Linked DNA regions of Homo sapiens: region 2 is linked to region 1. Evidence: promoter capture Hi-C in 16 types of primary human blood cells and fetal thymus (Javierre and others, 2016). All regions are on one chromosome and are shown on one strand. The core of a region is centred on a gene start or on the middle of the fragment in contact, and the rest is flanking DNA. Distances in the headings are between cores, read along the strand shown.

Evidence for each region. Contacts are between HindIII fragments. The CHiCAGO score rates a contact against its expected background, and 5 or more counts as called.
Region 2: a fragment that was not itself captured here is called in contact with the fragment with the promoter of MPHOSPH6 in region 1 in 4 of 17 cell types (M2 macrophages, monocytes, M1 macrophages and 1 more); the score reaches 7.0 in M2 macrophages.

What each region holds. Positions count from the first base shown.
Region 1 is chr16:82,167,759-82,171,508 of GRCh38, forward strand. MPHOSPH6 (M-phase phosphoprotein 6) reads right to left here and starts at 2,466. Exons shown (of 5, transcript NM_005792.2): 1 at 2,367-2,466. The coding sequence starts at 2,417. RefSeq lists an enhancer at 2,323-2,467, a cis regulatory region at 2,395 and a silencer at 2,442-2,601. The HindIII fragment of the contact is 21,548 bases long and covers 1-3,750 here.
Region 2 is chr16:82,038,900-82,042,279 of GRCh38, forward strand. All of the region lies in intron 1 of HSD17B2 (hydroxysteroid 17-beta dehydrogenase 2), which reads left to right. Among named protein-coding and RNA genes, the nearest start is that of HSD17B2, 5.3 kb to the left of the region's middle. The HindIII fragment of the contact is 826 bases long and covers 1,047-1,872 here.

The DNA of each region.
Region 1 (3,750 bases), core at 1,216-3,715:
ATGCAAGCTATGGGGAACAGCTGTAAATACAGATGAAGTTTCGCTCGCTTGCCTGCCCGCTGCTCACTTCCTGCTGTGCAGCCTGTTCCTTACAGGTCATGGACTGGTGCTGGTCCATGGCCTGGCGGTTGGGGACCCATGCTATATAGGACTTAGCTCTGGTTAAGGCACCCTAAGTGCAGCTACTCCATGCCTTCTCACAGTATACTCTGTTCTATCAGTATAGACAGTGTCTCCTGCTATCTTGCCAGTAAGTTTTTTCTTATCAATGACCAAAGCTGCTAAACCAAATAGAGAATGTGGGTGATCTTTTTCCTTCTCCTTTGCTTCCAACGTCCAGTTGAGTCTCCCCATTTGGTGGGGGTGGACATTTAAGTTAATTTCTTTCTTCTTAGTTGCAACTCGGATATTTAGTTTGAGCCTGAGTCACCCAGTACATCATCTGGCTTATTCCAAGAGCTAAAACAACTGCTAAAATCTTTCCAATATCTGCTTGGCCAATTCACTCCACTTCTCTGAAGTTAATGTTATTACCAACCATAAAATCAAACTCTGTTCAGTAAAGATTCAAATTTTGCTAATATGCATGAAAGTGCTTGACAAACTCTAAGTTATGCTGCAATTTGTCCTCCACCCTCATTCACCCATTCATCCCTAACTCCATCCTAGCTCAACTCCATTCAAATCTTGCCCATATAATGTTTACTCTCTCTCTTTTTTTTTTTTTTTTGAGACAGGGTCTCCCTGTGTCACCAAGGCTGGAGTGCAGTGGCGCCATCTCAGCTCACTGCAGCCTTGATCTCCCAAGCTCAAGTGATCCTCCCACCTCAGCCTCCCAAGTAGCTGGGACTAAAGGTGCGTGCCACTAGGCCTGGCTAATATTTTGTATTTTTTGTAGAGATGGGGTTTCACCATGTTGCCCAGGATGGTCTCAAACACCTGGGCTTAAGCGATTTGTCTACCTCAGCCTCTCAAAGTGCTGGGACTACAGGCATGAGCCACTGCGAATGGCCTATCTTTCAAAACATTATGAATGCTTCCTTCCCTCTTTTGGAAATTCCACCTCTTTAAACATGACATGTAACAGTTTGCTACTCTCTAGAAGTAGTGCTTAGTGACAGGCATCACAGAGTACAGAGTAGTAATAAAGAGCCAGGGTTCTGGAGCCAGACTGCCTGAATTCCCGTCCTGTCTACACTACTTATTAGCTGTGTAACTTTGGGTAAATTACTTATTTCTGTTTCAGTTGCCTTAGCTGTAAGAAGAGAGTTACTGCCTGTAGTCACCTCAAAGTGTCATTATGTGAATTGCATAGGTTAATATACGCAAACCACTTCAATCATTGTCTAGTACTATAAATATTTGCCATTTTCTTGATACTGTTCCCCGTTTCAATAGCTTTCCATTGCTCACAAAATAAAGGAAAATATCTTTAATCTGGCCTCAAATTCCCTGCACGTTGTGACCATTGCCTACTCTGCAACCCCATTTCTTAGTACTTGCCTTCCAGACATACTGAATTGTCTCTAATTCTTGGAAATTTCCATGGTTTTCTTTTTCTTTCTTGCCTCTCAGACTTCTGAACTCAGTTTCTCCTAGTTTAGGACGCTGTGCCTTCCACCCTCCCAGTAACCTAGAGACTACCCTGCGAGACTCACCCTCTTCTCCCTGGAAGAAGAGGGAGTTCTGCCAGCAGACTGTCTTTGGACTTGGACTGAGTACTTCTCTGGGTCTCCAGCCTACTGGCCCACCCTGCAGATTTTAGACTTGCATCTCCACAGTCGTGTGATCCAGTTTTAAAAATACCCCCTCTCTCCATACACATATATACACATATACATCTTGTTGATTCTGTTTCTCTGAAGAACTCTACTAAAAGAAGTATTATCAAAATTAAAAAGGAGCTTGAACTCATGTAGCCTAATGCTCTTCTTTTTAAAGATGAGGAAAAGAGATATTCAGAGAAAGAAGTGAATTTACCTAAATTACCCAGCTAAGGAGTTACACTTCCCATATATCATATTTATTGCATATATAAGTAAGCAACAACTTCTCGAGAAGCTCGGTGAGTCCCCAAGGTCCCCAGCGCTTCTACCCTCACTGCACTGGGTAAGCTGTACCCTGACTGCTTCTGTGTACTCAAGCTCCCATCCGCCCGCGGGCCTCCTGAGAGAGTCGGCCTAATTCGTAAGCTGGTTCCCAGTAAACAGTGCAGAGCAGGCGCTAAGTGAATGAATGAGCACGAGAGCTGGAAGCCCTCTGAGGCCTCTCTGGTGTCCCTTGTCCGCCCGCCGCCTCGGCCCCGGCCAGGTTGGAAGGACCGGGTGCCCCTACCGCCCGGAGTGGCGCTCTCAGCGTCCCCGCACCTTCATGCGCAGTAGATTCTTGGACAACCTTGTCTTTCGCTCGGCCGCCATGGTAGCTTCCGCCCAGCGCCGCACTCCGGCCGCGAGCCTCACCGCACATGCGCGGAGCCGCGTGCGCAGCTGCGTCCCTCGCGTAGTGCGCGCCGCCCCGCCCCGCCCCTCCCCTGTGTCTTGCGCGCGGGCGCGGCCACTCAGCGGGCGCTCTGCTGACTGAGAGGCTCGGGTAAGCTCGCGGGGTGGCGGGCGCGGGGATGAGCGCGGCAGACCGCAAAAAAGCCGAAGTCAGAGGACGACCCAGAACTTGGCTTCCCCGAGCCGCGGGTCGCCTTCCCGGGACGTCGGCCTGGCCCCCTCGGAGGCCCATCCTCCCTCGGGGACTCCCTTCCTCAGGGACCCCCTCCACACTCAGTAGTCCTCGCCAGCCTCAGAGAGGTTTCCGCCACGCCTGCCACCCGCCTGGGCCGTGTTACCCACGTGTTTTGTCTTCATAACGTGGGTGGCGGGCTCCCTTTGTTCTGGGTCGCTTTGCAGGGTCCAGGTCGTTTTCTCTTCACCAGGACCCCACGAGTTGCTGCTTTCCTCACAGCAGCCCGGAGTCCCGGGGGAGCGCGGCGGGGGCCGCCCCAGGCAGGCTGGCTTCATTCCCAGGCTGCTGCCGATGCGTGTCTGGCCGAGTGATCTCTGCTAAACAGAAGAATCTCAAGAAATGGCAAGGGATGGAGGCAGGGATGGGTGCCAAAGACACATGAATGAGAACAAAGCCTGGTTTTGATCCAAAGAATTGAAAAGACCATAGCGAGGGGCAACATAGGGAGACCCCACCTCTACAAAAAAAAAAAAAAAAAAAAAAAAAAAAAAAATATATATATATATATATATATATATACACAAAAAATATACAAAATATACATACAAAAAATATATACAAAATATACAAAAAATGTACAAAAGATACAACAAAAATAGCTGGGTGTGGTGGCACGGATCTGTGGTCTCCACTACTTGGGAGGCTGAGGCTGGAGAATCACTGGAACCCGGGACGTCGAGGCTGCAGTGAGCTGACATCCCGCCACTGGACTCCAGTCTGGGCTACAGAGTGAGGCTTTGTCTCAAAAACAAAACAACAAAACAAAAAAGAATTTAAAAAACCACTGAAAATAGGGTAGCGTTCCTACCCTGGTGTTTAATGCTCTGGGTACCACCTAAACACGTTTTCGAAAACCATTCCCAGGTCCGACGCTTTGGAACACCCTCAAGCTAATAGCATCTCGGCTGATACCATGAGTTCTACGTCAGATTGTTGACCTGGTCACCTTAGGGCTAATTAGTTCACTTAATCCCCATAAGAACCGGAAAGAAGGTATTGTCATCGTGTTGTTAAGGA
Region 2 (3,380 bases), core at 210-2,709, 130 kb before region 1:
AGCTGTAGTCTTTATGCCTTCACACCAGTCAATCATTAGTTAAGGGCAGTCACCCCTGTTCCCCCTTGGTTGTGGGCAGGAGGGGAGACTTAATTCCATGCACTTCTGGCACCATGTGGACACTGGCTGGCAAAGTGGGTTCTGGTCCTTTGGGGAAAGAATCGCAGGTGCTGGCTGCTGGGAGTCAAAGTGCACCATGGATTGATGCACACAACAGTGGGAGGGTTCTGGGGGAATAGCATCTTATTTGCTGCATCTTTATTACTAGCTGTGTGGACAGCTGTGTAAACTTTGGTGCTCGGTTTTGGATTTTGGGACTCTGTTTTCTCCTCTGTAAATGGAAAATAATACACACACACACACACACACACACGCACAAACACACACACACCCCTGCATATGTTATACTACTATAGATGGAGTTAGCAGATGAGAGAGAGAGAGAGAGAGAGGGAGAGAGAGAGAGAGAGAGAATGACTGTATTGGGGTGGTGAGGGGAAAGCTTGAGTAGTTAGGAAGAACATGAAGGAACAAAAAGAACAAAAGAAAACGTTGACAAACAGAGAGAAGAAGCATTCATGTATTCACTCAATAAATATTCATTGAGGGCCCAGTATGTGCCATGCATTTTCCAGAAGCAAAGGGGGAAGAAAATTTTAAGACCAGGAAATTACTGTCAAGCGATGGGATCAAAATTCCTACTTTTCCTTCATCTTGGACACACATTCACTGGAGTTCCTTCCCCCTCTTCTGAGGTTACACGTTGTCCTTCTCAGCCTACCCTCTAAGCTTGGCAGGAGATGCACAGGTAACTTTAAGTTTCTATCCTCTGGCCTTTCATCCTGCCCCCTCCAGTCATCTCAAATATTGAGAACCGACTCAGCATCTACTGTGTACAGAGCAGACACCTCAGGGCTTCATGGACCACTGGGGAAGACACGGCCACACCCAACTGTGGCTGTGTGATGGGGCACATAAGAAACCTCCAGGTTCATTCCCAAAGCGGATCCCAGGCAGACACAGGTCTTGTGTGTGGAGCTGGGGAAAGCTTGACAAAAAAAGAGGGACCTCGTTAAGAATCTAAAATTAGTTTTCTAGGGGGAAAGTGAGAAGGTATTCCAGCCTAATTGGTTAAGTAGCTACAACAAATACAGCTAGCACTCAATAAGGCTTGCTGCATTAGATAATTTTTAATTGAAAATTTCAAAACTGGATATATTGGAGAACGGATCCAGGAGGAGAAGTAAGATCTGTTTTCAGTGAAAATATTTTATGCTCACAAGAAAGTGTCTCACGTGAGTGATCATCCCTTCTTGCAATTACTGAACAGTCCAAATAAGGTTCTCAAGTTGAATACCATGGGTATCATCTTGGGGTTTGGACTCCTTTGGATTTCACGTTAGATTATTAAGATGGATAAACATTGACAGTGGACTAAGAGACTAAGAGAAATAACATCTCTGTGCTCTAACCTTTACATGCATTTTATATTTGATTCTCACAACCCTAATAATTCACATTTGTAAACAAGGAAATGCGTCCAAAGTCACTGAGCTACTAAGTAGCCAAGATTGGACTAAACCCAGATCAGATCCATCTCTCACCAAAAGCCATCCTCTTAACCACTGTCATTAGAAGTGTTAGATCCATAGTTGGTATTAGACCACAAAGGTTACCCAGGATATAAAACGTGTCCATTCAATCAACAAGTAAATATTGAACATCTGTTATGTGCCCATGACTCTGCTTAATACAGAGCTTGGCAATTGATTGGGTGTAGAAGATGCTTATGAGGGATGATGAAATAAGAGTACCATACACAGGGCTAGGGATGTTTGCAGAGGGTGATGATTTGAGACATGCCATGTGCTAAGCTTGACTTCAGAACTGAGTCTGAGAGCAGTGAAGGGTAGTTCAAGTGAAGTGTCACTGGAAATTGGAAATAATGAAATAGAACTTGGTTAGATTTGTAGATAGATGCTGGAGAAGCATGAGCAACAAAGTGATGGTGGATGTTGAAAGGATGGCCCTTAGTGAGTCTATAATTCAGTCTACCAGATGATTTTTACATGAACAAATGTCCCCACTTATCATGCGGTTTAAGTTTTACCTTTACCTACTACAGGGAAGCATAAAAAAGGTTTTGATAACCCGGGTAATTTTGTGAAAGTTTGAACAATGATTGTATCAGGCATTATAGATGGAGTGTTTTGACTGGGGAGTATTCTGACTGCATGGAAATCCATGCCAACTATACTGCAAGCGGCTTGAAGGCAGGAACCAGGTCTCTTTTTATGACCATGTGCCTCTTCTCAGTCTCTCAGCACGTTAGGCCTAACACAGTGTTAATGAGCGAATGCACAGTGAGTGAACCAACCATGTGGGTGAAACGTCCTCTCCTTTTCATGGTCGTTAGTTGGACACAATAGGATTGTCCCAATCTGCCCACTCACTTAGGTACTTACCTTTGCTGTTCTTTTTGCTGGGGTCATTTGCATAAAAAGGGCAGAGTGACATGGCTGAGCTGTTGGAAGCTCCATTGTTCTGTAGTGACTTAATTGTTGGCTTGCCCTGGACAAGGCTTTATGCTGATTTGGTTCTAAGCGTGCTCCTGCTTACCCAGGATGTGGCACAAATAGAACATCCACTGGCTTCCACCAGTCTGCTGAAACTGCTCTCTAAGTGTCACTGGTGTCCTTCTAATCACCAGAGCTTGACTTCTGCTCCAGCACTGCCGACCATACTTTCTTTCTTTTCATGGCCTCGTTAGCCTTGCAGGAACTGCATTTCCATGCTTCTTTGTCCTTTGACTCTTCCGGGTTCTTCCTACACTTCCTCCAAGGTAATCTCTGACTCTGTCTTTACTCCACCTTCTTATATGGCTGCATTCTCTACCCAGCAGCAAAGTCATACCTGCTCCTGTGGTATCAATTATCTCCTCTGAGAGAGGACTGGCAAATCGTGGTTTTGTATACCTGACATTCTTCTGAGCTCCTGACTCATATTTCCAGAATTTTAGCCTGAAACTTTAAATTTGGCATGTTTTAAAAAAAATTTATCATCTCCTCTTGTGATCCTTTTCCCTTTCTTTTCTTTTCTTTTTTTTTTTTTTAATTTTTTATGCACAGAGTCTCGCTCTGTCACCCAGGCTGGAGTGCAGTGGTGCGATCTTGGTTCACTGCAATCTCTGCCTTCCAGGTTCAAGCAATTCTCCTTGCCTCAGCCTCCCGAGTAGCTGGGATTACAGGGGCCCACAACCATGCCTAGCCAATTTTTGTATTTTTTAGTAGAGAGGGGGTTACGCCATTTTGACCAGGCTGGGCTTGAACCCCTGACCTCAAGTGATCTTCCCGCCTCAGCCTCCCAAAGCGCTGGGATTA